5 separate regions of the Homo sapiens genome follow, and all the other regions are linked to region 2. The links are contacts of gene promoters, found by promoter capture Hi-C in blood cells and fetal thymus (Javierre and others, 2016). All regions are on one chromosome and are shown on one strand. The core of a region is centred on a gene start or on the middle of the fragment in contact, and the rest is flanking DNA. Distances in the headings are between cores, read along the strand shown. Region 1 has its middle 29 kb from the start of SIPA1L2. Region 2 holds the start of NTPCR (nucleoside-triphosphatase, cancer-related). Region 3 overlaps SIPA1L2 (signal induced proliferation associated 1 like 2). Region 4 overlaps PCNX2 (pecanex 2). Region 5 overlaps PCNX2 (pecanex 2).

Region 1 (2,829 bases), core at 201-2,700, 290 kb before region 2:
GTTCTGTTTCAGGAGAAATGATGCAAGACATTGGTTCTAAACTCTCTTGGTTTCAAAAGAGGATCCTGTTCTTAATTTAGAATGTTTGTAATATATGCATTAGAAAGGAAAGCTTTGAATAGAAAATAAATTCCCCTCTGTATTGCTGATTGGGAAATGGCCACCATATAATCTCTCCAGGAATGTGATGAAATTGCACTTCCAGTTGTATTGCTTTCCCTGCCAAAAATGAAATCCTTCTTTTTAACTGATTTTTCCTCACAATAGATAACAGACAACTTTGAATTCTACATAAAAATAATTATGGAAACAATTTTAAAAGACCTATTGCAATATCTTCAGATCAATTCCAAGTGAACAAATCATGGTGACATTTGCTTGGCCATGTGACATGGAGGCAGTTGGTATCAGACTCAGCATCTTTATGCTACACAGTAAGACAAAATCTGAGCTCTTAAACTTTAGACATGAAGGAAAAAAACACACACACACACAGCAGCCCAAATTGAGAAGCTGAAGACAGCCTTCAGGAAGATATAGGTACTATGTATCTCACACCTAAATGTCCTCCATAAATAGATAATATGATTGATCCAGAAGTAGACTGTGCTGAAGAAAAGAAGAAGAAAATGAACTAGATAATTTTCCAAAGCCTCTCATCCACCAGCCCTTCCCCTAAACCTGAGGGCTGCACACTTGCTTATGCTATCTTGATCTCTGCCTTAGAGAAAGAAGCCTAGGGGGACAATTTCTCTTACGAAACACATCACAGTTCATCTCTTCTTTGCAAGGATTTATAACAAGAGAAAGAGACACATTTATTTTCTTGTAACTGTAGGCAGCAAGACATCATTGAAAATGCATGAGAATTGCAGTTGGTAAATCTGAGTTCAAGGTCAGAGGGGAAATTTCATCTCTCTGAGATTTGGCATACACATCTGTAACCAGGGACTAATAATTCCTACACAGTGGAGATATCTTGAGAATTAAAGGTCCTAAGGCCTATGAAAATGGTATGCAAACGTTGATCTAGAAAGGACCAGGGAAAATCATCTTGACCACTCTAGCTCTCGGCAGGATCACATCTCAGTTTTCCTGGACTGAATTAAACAAGTTCAGAGAAGGAACTAAAATGGAAAGTGTTTGATAACATTCCAAAGGCACAATACATAAATTCTTATATTATAGCTTCAGTCCCTGTGGCTTTCTTTGCATCTCAGTGAAGATGGAAAATTTACCATATAATTAATGGCTTTTGTTTTCACGAAGCCTGTAGTATCACTTCTCAGCCATTTCTTTTAGAAACGGAATACTGCCAAAACTTTAACTGTTCCTTAAAACTGTGTTTGGAGGTATGCTGTACACTCTCTCCAATTACTCTAGCTCATTTTTTTCTGGGACTCAGAATTCTGTTAGTATGGATTCAGGTCCCGTTCTGATGCAGTACTTTATGGTTCCTACTTGGGATGCACTCAGCCTTTTTATCCTACTGATAGGACATCAGCTCCTTATCTACTGTAGCCCCTCAATCTTTTCCTGCCATTTATGTATATAGAATTGTTTTGTCTTGTATTTATGCATTTTCTCTGCCCTTGATGTACTTTTCTTAGTTCAAGTTGCCGGTTTATTGAAAACACAATAAATTCCTATAGTCCTATATTTCAAGATCTCTGCCCCACATATCTTAGTGTTAACTGCGAAACCAATGAAGGATACTCTCATTCCACCATCCAGGGGTTATGCAGTGCTGGGTCTAGAACCAATATCCTGTGAGCAATGATTGCCATGAAATTTTAAGTTGGTATTGCTATTTTTAAAAGTCCTCTCTTGCACATGAATTCCCCACCATGTGTATGGTCATATAATAACTATGAGCTAAGTTAGCTCGTGTAGCCCTAGTATTTTCGTATGATACATAGACCAGAATAAAAGTCTCTGTGAAGCTAAGATACCAGTGATTTTCTGGGGTTCTCCCTGGCTTATTTTCATCAAAGAAAAGGACTTGATTGGCCTGACCAGGTTTGTATTTCATAAAGCTGCGTTGGTGGCTAACCAGGATTTTTATCCTCTTTAAGGCAATTTCAAAATGAGTTTTTCTGGGATATAAGCAAATAGTTAATCTTCACTGAATAGAGCAGATTCAACGCTGACTCTTAAGGGCTGGGAGATTTTTGCTTTGAGCTGACCATTTACACATTTTCACAAAGAAAAGATAGTGACTTGGGTAAACACAGACCTCTCTCCTTAGAACCTTTCAGCAACAAGCTGGTAACTACAGTCCTTTATGATAGCAATAGGGGAAATGTATCCTTTCCCTACCCTCTGCCCACCATTAACTACTATAGTCTTGTTAACAGATGAAATAAATTTGATGTATTAATTCAGCAAAAGCCACATGTTCTGAATTAAAGGAAGCAAAATGACTTTAGGTAAAACAGGAAACGTTGTGAATCAGCTGCTGTTTTGGTAAGTCAGCCTTCCACAGCCAAACTGATGCCTGTTACAAGTTTTCAGCCTTCCACAGCTGAACTGATGCCTGTTACAGGTTTTCAGACTTCCACAGCCTGACTGATGCCTTTTACAGGTTTTCAATCAACTTGACAATAATAATAGCAGAGGTAACATACCAGCTTATTCGAAGAGAAGTATTAAATAACATAAGATTTCCCACTCGGATCTAATTTCTTCACCTCATGCTTTAAAACACTGAAGGGGAAGGTGTACAAAAACCTTGTTTCACCCAACTTTGGCACCTTCTCTGTAGTACTTATGTATTTTATCCTTCAAAAAAGCTTTTTGCAACTCACACTAAAATCATCAATATATCTA
Region 2 (2,811 bases), core at 66-2,565:
AGGCTAAAGGGAAACCAAGAGGTCCATGTGTGGGCAGAAACCAATTAAGTTGAGCACTCACTGAACTGCTTTCTCAGCCAGGATGGGGAACGACTGACTACAAATTAAGCTGTACACATGTTAGACTGAAAGAGTTTACAGGTAAATGTGGCCCAAGGCCACTGCCACGTCATTCGTTGGCCGGAACACTTGCAGTGGTAAAGTGAGACGGAGAAGCTATTTAATTCTTTGCAAGAGGAGATCTTTATACACTTTGGTGTGAAAGTAAAGAGGGAAAACTGGGCGTCCTATGCATGGCTGAGGACGGGAAGCCTGCCTACACCAGTGGTTCTCAACCCTAGCGCACTTCAGGAACTTCCTGGAGTTTAGAAAGAAGAAAAAAGAATACAGGTGCTCAAGACTCGCTCAAGACCAATTACTCATGTTAAACAAGATTTATGGGAGGCCATTGTTTTGGACTAACCTCCTGCACTAGGTCCTAGCAGACTAGACCAAACCAGAATGGAGTCACTTGTGCCAAGTGCCATGTAACCAAACTGAACTTTGAAACAGGCCCGTTTTCCCAAAAAACAGGAGATTGTAGTTAACCTGAGTCAGTACAATAACGAAGTCCAATCTGTTTTAACCCTATAAGGAAAGTAACTTTGAAATACCCACTCTTTGTTTTGTTCTTCAGCCTTTTTTTGCCCATAAAGCCAACCTCCTCTGCACAACTCATTGGAACACTCTATTTGCTTTATGAAATGATCTATTTCTCGATTCTAGATCCTAAATATAAGCCAATTAGATCTTTAAACTAAACTTGTAATTTTGTCTTCTGACACTCCCTATTACTGCAGGTGAAACCCAGGCATCAGAGCAAGTTTAAAACTCCCCAGCTGATTCTATTCTGCAGGAATGTTTGAGAACAAAGTTGGAGTCATTAACATGGCATCCCCCTTTGAGGAATGCTTCCAGGTCACAAACCTTCTACAAAAGGGCTGTCCCGGCAGCCTTGGGCAATTTCAGCTCCTAGGTCCGGAGTCAAGGGGCAGAACTTGGGTGATGGCGCTGACTTGAAGCAGCAATAGTTTAATAACTGACGTTCTCACGCACTTATCTCTGCAAATACCCCACAAAAGCCCTGAACCCAGAATGAAACTTAAGAGACCGTACAACCCGCTCCGCCTATAGGAACTGCCGCGGCACAGGCGCCAATGCCGAGGGCTGAATGCGCAGGCGCGGACCGGGGACTCGGGAGAAGGCGCATGCGTGGTCTTGAGGGCGGTGCTTCCGGTCAAAGCACCGCTTGGGGGCGGGGCCTGCGACACGCGGTGGGCGGGTCCTGAGTCGCGACCCTGGTCCGGACCTGACCTGAATTGCGACCCCAACCTGGACTGCTCCCCTGACCGCAACCCCTACCCCCGCCCACCAGTATGGCCCGGCACGTGTTCCTAACGGGGCCCCCAGGTAACCCTGAGGGGATCCCCACCTCCAAGAGGTCGAGGGGGTGGGGGCGCGCGGGCTGCGGGCGACCTTGTGCTGTCGGGGAGGGTCTCCGGCTCCAGGGCTCCGGCCTCTGAAGTTCCCAATTTAAATGGCGGGCTTGGTAGTCTGAAGAGTTTGTACTCCTTCCCGGAAAACGTGATTTAAAAGACACAGGGCCTAAAGGATTAGAACACACTTGTGAGGGGGTCCTAGACTGGCTTCTTGATGAAGGGCAGAAACCGCAGGGGCCAGCGGCAGCGGTAACTCCTACTGTAGTGTTGACGTTGTGGTCTGCACAAATGGTATTTCAAGAGATCTGCGGCAACCGCGATGTGAAGTGGAGATGTCTAATTTCTGTTGATAGTCACAGGTATTTCCTTACTGTGGGTCTTTGCTACATTGATCGTGCAAAAAAAAAATGGTAAATTTTAGTTGGAGGACAGCGAAACTGAAGTTGTAACCTTTCTTTCCCATCTAAGTTCATCCCCCCACCCCCATCCCCATCTCCATCCCCACGAATTCCCTCCACAGCTGAGGCCAGAGGTGGAGAAGCTTTGGTACCTACAGGAGCCCTTCTCAGACACTCTTGCTTGTTCCTGTCGCTGTCCCCTCCTGATGTCTGTCAGATCCCTCAACCCTGTGGCCTGTGGAGTTCTCATCTGAGAAGCAGGATAGCGTTGAGGTCAGATGAGAGGTGTAGGAGGAGGTGCTTTTAAACCAAGGCGCTACCCATGTATCAAGCATTACTAAAAAGGACAGGTAGGCTGCATCAGATAGGCTAAAAAAAGATAGATGGGCTAAGAGTGGAGAAAGTGATTTCTTCAGCTCCTTTGCAAGGCAAATCTAATTTTGAAGTTTAGTGTGGGTTCAGATATCAAAGGCTGTAACCCTGGATCTAGAATTCTCTTTCACTTTATTTTAATGATTATGTTTAGTTGTAAGTAGCAAAGGCTACAGCTAATATTGCAGACTTTGGGATTTTGTCAGGCATTGGATGGGGGAGTTGGGGAGCAGGGGGTGAGGAGGAGGAGGGTGGTTTGAGAAATGCCTGCTATCTAAAGTCACTCCTAAGTATTGCAAAGAACTGTTTTCTGAAAGTTGGTTTGTCAATCCTTTATTTGAAACTTGGAATGCAGTTTGATACTCAGCAGGCTGACCCCAAGACAACTGTGTGTTTTATTAATGGAGGTGTCCTGTTACCGTGATTGTATTGATGGTGGTTCTTGTTTCTGCTTTATCAAAGTCTTACCTACACGTAGTTGAAAGACTCAAATAATTCTACAGTGTAGCTCTCTTAAACCTGTCCTCAAACCCACGCACCTTTGTCTTTTCTCCTTCTCTTCT
Region 3 (2,700 bases), core at 190-2,689, 330 kb before region 2:
GGTGAAACCCCGTCTCTACTAAAAATACAAAAATTAGCTGGGCATGGTGGCGTGCGCCTATAATCCCAGCTAATCAGGAGGCTGAGGCAGGAGAATCGCTTCAACCCAAGAGTCGGAGGTTGCAGTGAGCCAAGATTGCACCAGTGCACTCCAGCCTGAGGGACAGAGTGAGACTCCATCTCAAAAAAAAAAAAAAAAACTCTTGTTACTCCGCATAATTTTAAAATAAATCACTTCAGTGTATCAATTATCAAGTTATATATTCCTAAGTATAAAGTCTCAAAACAAAACACATGACCTTGAGTTGCAAATATAATACTATGTGTATATTCTGTCAACTAACTGAAATGAATTCAGTAATTTTATACCAAAACGTCATTTATATCTCTGTATATCCAAAGTAATTTTTCCTTTAGTTTTATGACACAGTCTATAACCTTCAGTAAATTACAGTGAGGAAAAAAAACATAATGACCATCTTACGTGATAGACAAAGTAATTATCACCACTTTGAAAATACTGTCCGTCACTTCTCCTTAATGTTGCTTTTGTTAATAAAATGCATCTCTGGAGTTGCAAAACCTAAACCAGGCAAAAAGATGAGTTTGTATTTAAGCAGATCATTTTAATAGAGATAGTACTGTGATCAAAGGAACAACTGAGAGTGTTCTGTATGTATCTTCTGGTCTTGGAGAGGGCCTACAGTTTCCCTGCACACAAGAGGCCCTCAACAAAAACTCAAATCCTAACCATTTTCCAAAGCTTAACTCAAGTTCTATCTTCCTTGAATGTTTTCCTAACCATGCAAACCCACCTTATTCTCAGCTAACCACACAGTCTTTCATCTGAAAGAAGCTGTAGCGCCCATCTATCATATGGTCTCATTTACACAGGAATCTTTTTCTAATACACCTGACACATAGCCATCAACTCTGCCCAAGTTAGTTAGTTCATCACCTAAGAAGGCAGTGCATTCATCACCTAATAAGGTAGCCCATGCTACTACACAATAGCTCTAGTGATTAAATCATGCCCTCTGATAGTTCTGAATCAGTAACATCAGGAAGTTTAACTAGAAGAACACTCAAAGTCCCTCCGAGGACTAAATTCTAAGAGTCAGTTAATTTGCTGACTCTGCCTGACAGCTACCCAGGACGGGATGGAAGGGATGGAAGGACAAGATCCCTGTCCTCAGGGGTCTCACACCCTAGGGTGCCCCTGTTAACTTGGAAATCTTAGAATGCCAGCATTTAAAAAGACTTCAAGATGGCATGGTCCCACATCCTTATTTTAAAATTGGATTATAGTCACTGCCCCAGAAAGCTGAGGGAGTTAGACAAGGCCATGGAAGAACCCCTTATCCCACTTGTATCATCTGCAATAGCAGGATATTCTACTCTGCTCTTAAATGCTCCAAATAGATTTTTTTTTTAAGATGGAGTCTTGCTCTCTCACCAGGCTGGAGTGCAGTGGCGCGATCTCAGCTCACTGCAACCTCCGCCTCCCGAGTTCAAGCGTTTCTCCCGCCTCAGCCTCCTGAGTAGCTGGGATTACAGGCACGCGCTGCCAAGCCTGGCTAATTTTTGTATTTTTAGTAGAGACGGGGTTTCACCATGTTGGTCAGGCTGGTCTTGAACTCCTGAACTCATGATCCGCCCGCCTCAGCCTCCCAAAGTGCTGGGATTATGGGCATGAGCCACCACGCCCGGCCAGATTTTTTTAAATTACCATTTTTCTCCGTAGTTTTACCTGTTCCAAAAAGGAAGAAGATAAAAGTTCACTTTTAAACACACTAATGCTTGCAGGGATGACAAGGAAAGCAAGTGCATATTGCCAGAACCCTGTTCCATGAAGGTAGGTGTCTCGATGTACACTTCTCTCCACCTTCCTCAACACCTCCCAGGGTGCTACAGCAAGGGAAGTACAGATGTGCTAAGCCTTTGCTATTGGAATAACAAAGAGCGTAGTAAGATGAAAGCAGTGTCTCTTGAAACTCTCCTAGGGCCTTGTTCCTCATTCCATGCACATATCCTGTGCCGACTCAACATCCCCTCTGCTCCACAGCTTATCTCAGAAAGAACTAAGTTACGGTGCCAAGCTAAGAGGATGAATTTAGAAAGCTTCACATAACCAGACGCACAGCGACAGCAGCCATCAGACATCACCCAGATTTAACTGCCCTAAAATTAGCAGTCAGAGCAAAGTAGTTACTGCAATGATTGCGTCAGAGCTATTCTGACTGGCAAACTGCCAGTTTTAAACAAATTGTCCTGCTTTCTCTACCAGGGAAACAATATTTTGGAACAGAGCCAGCTAAGCATTTCAGTGAATGTTCAAATTCTAGCTTCTCTATTAATGTTGTATAATTCAATGACAAGGTGAACAAAGTCTACATAGGCTACATCTGCAAGGGTGTTATTTTCTTTGTTGTAAGCACTTATTCTTTGGGTGAGTAAAGTACTGTGGATGAATCCTTTTAAATATTTAAATGCCTGAAATGTATTTAGGGATTCACATTCAACTGGCTTAAACAAAGATTATGCAAATCTAGCAAAATATAAATGCAAAACAAAAATTGTTTTCCTCTTATATTTCTTTTAATCTTGGCAAAGACTCGGGCTAAAAAAAATGTTCTCTGCATGATCACAGAAGGACCCACTCACTTCCCAACAAAGAATATATAACCTGATTCAATCAGTA
Region 4 (2,778 bases), core at 216-2,715, 310 kb after region 2:
AATACTTTAGTGAAAGAAGAGTAAGGATATTACCAGTCTCAAAGATACATGGCATCACTGAAAAACCATCTAATTTGCCACCTTTGACGTTGATGGCCTTCTACGAGCTAAAAGATTCACTGTCTCTTTCTTCAATTAAAATCCTCTGTCCTTTCCTAAAAGAAGCATGTAATTTATTCCAACTCCTCCCTTCCTGCTGTACCTTCAAGTTCTTGATAACTAAGCCTATCTCTTCCCATAGAATACCTCATATCTCCCTGCACACAACCTCAATTTCCAGTTTAACCCTTCTGATTGAATGTGGCTGGCTGAAAAAATTAAGAAGAGCAAAAACTCAAGTAGGCAAACCAAATAAACTTTACATACAGCCTGAGGGGAAAACAAAAATAAAAGACTAAAATTGATCAAATAGCAAAATTTTTCACATATTTTCCTAATTGAATCCTCACAATAAATCTACAACATATTATGATTCCTGCTCTGTAGAAGAAACTCCAACACAGATGGATTTGATCAATTGTCCAAGCTCAACCAGCTGGTATTACTGAACCAAAATCTGGCCTTGGGCTATCTGATTCCAAAGTCAGTGCTCTATCCACTGGACACACTGCTTCTGGGAAGGCCTTCATGCGCTCTGGGTTATCACTGGCTAATACAGTAGCCAATAGCCACATGGCTACTTAAATGAATTAAAATCTAATGAAATTAAAAATGCCAGTTCTCATCTACACAACCCCCTTTTAAAGTATTAAATAGCTACCTGTGGCCACTGGCTACCATATTGGACTGCAGATATGGAATATTTCTATCACTGCAGAAAATTTTATTGGACAGTGCTAGCCTAGAGGTATGAATCTTTATATTAGATAGATGATAAACACCCAAATCTTTAAATACAAAAGTTTTTATCTCAGGTTACTCCTGCTTTATATACCGCCCTGTCTGTTAAAAAGTTTAACTGAATCAGAAAAAATTGCTCAGAGCAACCAGTATGGAGCCAGAGGAGCTCCTGGCTGTCCAGAAAGCAGAGGAAAAATCCCAGCACTAAGAAACGTTACTACCTACAGCACAGAAAATGAGCTACCATATGCAAACACAACTTTCAGTCAGCATTCCTACCATACAGATGCTATCTCAATACAGATCTATGTAGAAATGATATGCTCAGAAATCACAGCAGTAACAGAATTTAAAGCTAAAAGACCTTATAAAAGCTCTAGTCCAGTAACATCATTTTATCCATGAGGAAACTGAGGCCCAGAGACATTAAGTAACCTGAAAATAAATGTACCTTATCTTCATATAGGAAATATCATTTAATTTTTATGAGCAAGGACTGTGGAACAAGACTGCCTGGAATCAAATCTCAGTTCCAGCACCTCCTGAACTTACTAGATACTTGGGAAAGCAAGTGAAAATTTCTGAGACTCATCCGAAGAACAGGAAGGATGATGGTATATCCATAACGTAAAGTTATATAAGGAGTAAGTGAGTTAATATGAGAGTAACTGTATAATTTATCATCTAAACTGGGGACTCTTTTGAGAGACAAAGTCAGTGCTCTTAATAATTATGTTGGCAAAACATGTGTAAATGAGAACCCTTCCAGGCAAACCACAAGGTACAGTCACCCTCGTTAATACATGCAAAGTGCTTAGAACACTGCCTGGCATAAATTAAGAGCGGCAGAAGTGTTTGTTATTATTATGTGTACAACATGGGATAATTAGCGGATTCTGTATTTTATAATAGAACTCAGCAGGAAAAGTAGATTCACTTCACAGAAATTTGTCTTAGAATCAACTTTCCCAGAAGGCATCTATTCCATAAAGTAAGAAATATCTATTGCGAGTACTTGCCACAGTAGTAAAATATAATTGCTTATTTCTCTGGGAGTAAATAGTCTTGCCTTCTATAGGGAAGCAAAAAAATTATGACAATGCCTTAAGTGTCCTGGTAGAGTAGGACAATATATGTATACATGTTCATCACAGAGCTTAGTATCGGTACATTCAGCAAATATTGATGAGAAAGCCAAGCAACAAACGATTGCCCAAGAGTTGTCTCACTATTTGCAAAATCAAATTACACAAGGCAAATGGCAAAAAGGTGTATTGCCTTCTATGTCATCATCAGAACGGAAATGACATGGAATCGCACCTCGGAGAAGCCCACTTTCTTCATTCTGCTCAGCTGAGCCATTCAGTTGACTGGATGCCGTCATCTTGGAAGTATTAATGGATTCTAACAGGGAGACAAATTCCAGGAAGTTGGACTCATTTGGCATTTGTCCTTCCTTAGCCTCTAGGTCAGATTTGGAAGTTGGCATTGTTTTCTCTGTATCGTTAACAATTTCTGCAGAACTTTTACTCAAGAAGACATCTGTCCCACTGTCCACACTGAGCACCCGGGCATGCCTCTTTTCATGGCTGGACTTACAAGACGATGGGTCAAGGTTAGTCTGGCCTTCCTTCCCCACCTTAGACTCGGAGCCTGTATCAGGTGTAAGCCGGGACACCGATTCCCAGGGTTCCCGTGATGAAGAACTGTGATCCTTGATGGCATTTCCCCCCTCCCCAGATCCGTAGCCAGAACACTGATTGGTGGATACCCTCGTCTTCAGTCTCTCTGGAGTCCTTTCACTTCCATTGCCTTCGGGACAGGGAACACCTCCTCCCCCACCCTCAGGCAGGTCCAGGGTGATTACAGGAATTGAGATCTGCTCGGCATTTGGAGAACCGGCCGCCCCTGGGTTAGTGGGCTCAGCGTCAGACTTTA
Region 5 (2,700 bases), core at 185-2,684, 290 kb after region 2:
AAATACTGTCATACAGCTGGGCGCAGTAGCTGATGCCTGTAATCCCAACACTTTGAGAGGGGGAGGCAGGAGGACTGCTTGAGCCCAGGAGTTCAAGACCAGCCCTGGCAACACAGTGAGACCTAAGCGCTACAAAAATAGAAAAAAAATTAGCTGGGCATGGTGGCACATGCCTGTAGTCCCAGCTACTTGGGAGGCTGAGGTGGGAGGACCACTTGAGCCTGGGAGGTCTAGGCTGCAGTAAGCCATCATCATGCCACTGCACTACAGCCTATGTGAACAGAGTAAGATCCTGTCTCAAAAAAAAAAAAAAAGCAACTTTCATACACACATGTAAATAAACATAAACTTCAATACATTCAATAAAGTCTTCATATAAAGAACCGCTTAGGAAACATAACATGATGAAGTCAGGGTTTAGGACGTGAACCAGGTAGAGTAAGTACGTAGAGTTTGAAAACTTAAAAATCCTGTGCTTCCATTATTTAATGTTTGCTCCTAAAATAATGCTTTTCCTTCTTGTCTATATTAGTGGCATAATCTCTGTCGTTAACAGAGAAAAAGATTAGTTAGATTTATAAAAACAATGTTCATTCAAACTCTTCTGCGTTGTACGGAAGCCACTGAGTAATGTAACTCTGTCATTTCACATCGAAATACAACAGAACTGAAATTGCAATGTTGACACAAATTCAGAGATATCTTAAACGGAGCACATGCCAGAACTTCACTACAAACAAAAGATTAAGCTAACTACATTGTAGGTAAGGTAGGTAATGATCATAAATAGGCAAGAGTGGGAAAAGAAATGTACGCTTCTGTGCAAAAAAGTAGAAGGTGTACAGCACCCTCTATCGCCAACTGAAATAAACTAAGAATTGACTACGACATAATGTGTAACGAATGGCTGTTTTAGAGCAGTCTTCCTCCTACTAAGGTGTCCTGCTAGGAAACATGATACAAAGGAAGTGTCAATCAATACATATCAGCTTAATTTTTCCATATTTCTTAGTACATTTCAGATTGTAAAATAATAATAATAATAAACATCATTTTCCTATATAAGCCATTTAAATATCCTTTAAAAAATCTATGGGTTGATTTTCTATTTAAGATCTTTTGGGTCAGTTCTAGAATTAAACAGAACTAGGTTAAAGTATACTACTCACTATCTGTGACTATAAGCATGTTGTCTTCCTACCTTAAATCCTCCCTATTAAATCAGGAAGATATTTTCCTCGTAGGTATCATTGTGAAAACTAAACCAGACTATGTATGTAAAGCAGTGAACACTGCCTTTCATATATTATGTACTTCATAACCATCCCTGGCCCTTTTTACTTCCTTTTGTTGATATAGGATTGACTTTGCTTTTTCTTATATTAAATAGCAACATAACTCCTATGCTTTTATGCAAATGGTATATTAATTTCAGGTGTCTCTGTTAGCAGGCATGGGGGAAGAGTATCTTGCCCTCAAATCACACCTAATCCTCCTTATTTTATAAAGACAGTCTCAAACAGCATATTAACTTCCCTCTTAATTAACCTCTTTTATGAGGGTTGAGTATTCCAGACAAGGCATGGGCATATAAGAAAGATTCTCTTCTGAGCTTAATGACTGGTATATGTCTGCATCAGAAACCTGTATTGTCATCTGTATTGTCATGTGTATATGGGCTCTCCATTTGGCCAGGAGGAAATGGTTACATGCTTACAGTAAGCATTGCTCAAATGGAGACGTTTCCCTTATGTGATATAATTCTCTGGTGTCCTGATAGTGTAGTTATAATCCAGCTTGCCCACCCAAGTACCAAAGAGACGATGATGTCCACAAAAATCACTGAAACGGACAGGTGGACAGGAGCGCAATCTTTGAATAATTCCAAAGTCTATGTTCTTTGCTAGCGTCTCTTCTCCAAGTATTTGCTGCTTATTCTCTCTCATTTTTTTTAAGTTATAGACTGTGAGCAGCATAATCATCTAAAAAGACAGTATCTTAGTAACTTAAAGCCAAAGCGTTTCCCACATTAATACATATAAAGTGAAAGCGTTAAGTTTCAAGAGACATTTTCTCTTCCTCCAAAACAATAATGGAAATGGAAATATCCCAAGCCTGTAGTAACTATTCTGTGAACTACAGTACACGATACTTAGCACATCTGGTCTCAATTATCCCGTTCTCTGGTGAATCTTTGGTAAACTAGTTTGGTTCAGGGCTATAGCAGAGATAAGTTTATTTAAGCTAGATTGAGCTCCAAGCAATAGCAGAAATAGTGATTAATGGTGGAAATTTCTAAAAGTGCTGCCACTAGAAGGTAATAAAGACGGGCCTGGGGCTAGGATCTAGTCTGGGCCAGAAGAGTGCACTTCTGTATGGAAGGAGTTGGGCCTCAAATTGACCATGACGATATTCCACCATACTGGACTCACCAGGTTTCCACCATCTGAGCTTCTACAAGCAACAGACAGTCAAAATACATGTGCTTCTTCTACACTGTCTCACTGATATTGGAAAAACATTTCTTGAAATTCTTCATCTTCCCCAGAGTTTAAAGACGATAGCCTATCACTCTCAGAGAGAGGGCCTCCCTTTTTCTGCCTCTTTCCTTGTTTTTCAGGCTTCCTCCAGGGACATGGGCACAAGGCGCATAGAGGGACACAGAAATGAAAGTCCCAGCAACATGTTCAACATGTAGGA

What was found. Contacts are between HindIII fragments. The CHiCAGO score rates a contact against its expected background, and 5 or more counts as called.
Region 1: a fragment that was not itself captured here is called in contact with the fragment with the promoter of NTPCR in region 2 in 2 of 17 cell types (M1 macrophages and M0 macrophages); the score reaches 6.5 in M1 macrophages.
Region 3: a fragment that was not itself captured here is called in contact with the fragment with the promoter of NTPCR in region 2 in 4 of 17 cell types (activated CD4 T cells, erythroblasts, megakaryocytes and 1 more); the score reaches 5.4 in activated CD4 T cells.
Region 4: a contact is called between a fragment that was not itself captured here and the fragment with the promoter of NTPCR in region 2, in 1 of 17 cell types (neutrophils). The highest score is 5.5, in neutrophils.
Region 5: a contact is called between a fragment that was not itself captured here and the fragment with the promoter of NTPCR in region 2, in 3 of 17 cell types (neutrophils, M1 macrophages and M2 macrophages). The highest score is 7.8, in neutrophils.

Annotation. Positions count from the first base shown.
Region 1 is chr1:232,657,526-232,660,354 of GRCh38, forward strand. No RefSeq gene overlaps it. Among named protein-coding and RNA genes, the nearest start is that of SIPA1L2, 29 kb to the left of the region's middle. The HindIII fragment of the contact is 2,680 bases long and covers 111-2,790 here.
Region 2 is chr1:232,949,296-232,952,106 of GRCh38, forward strand. NTPCR (nucleoside-triphosphatase, cancer-related) reads left to right here and starts at 1,316. Exons shown (of 5, transcript NM_032324.3): 1 at 1,316-1,449. The coding sequence starts at 1,416. LOC107985361 (a long non-coding RNA gene) reads right to left here and starts at 2,254. Exons shown (of 2, transcript XR_001738525.2): 1 at 2,033-2,254; 2 at 1-1,861. RefSeq lists enhancers at 1,038-1,137, 1,050-1,591, 1,592-2,131. The HindIII fragment of the contact is 8,064 bases long and covers 1-2,017 here.
Region 3 is chr1:232,618,472-232,621,171 of GRCh38, forward strand. All of the region lies in intron 1 of SIPA1L2 (signal induced proliferation associated 1 like 2), which reads right to left. Among named protein-coding and RNA genes, the nearest start is that of SIPA1L2, 10 kb to the right of the region's middle. The HindIII fragment of the contact is 1,358 bases long and covers 761-2,118 here.
Region 4 is chr1:233,255,868-233,258,645 of GRCh38, forward strand. It overlaps PCNX2 (pecanex 2), which reads right to left. Exons shown (of 34, transcript NM_014801.4): 5 at 2,161-2,778. Among named protein-coding and RNA genes, the nearest start is that of PCNX2, 38 kb to the right of the region's middle. RefSeq lists an enhancer at 1,993-2,778. The HindIII fragment of the contact is 3,879 bases long and covers 1-2,778 here.
Region 5 is chr1:233,238,395-233,241,094 of GRCh38, forward strand. All of the region lies in intron 8 of PCNX2 (pecanex 2), which reads right to left. Among named protein-coding and RNA genes, the nearest start is that of PCNX2, 56 kb to the right of the region's middle. The HindIII fragment of the contact is 5,656 bases long and covers 1-2,700 here.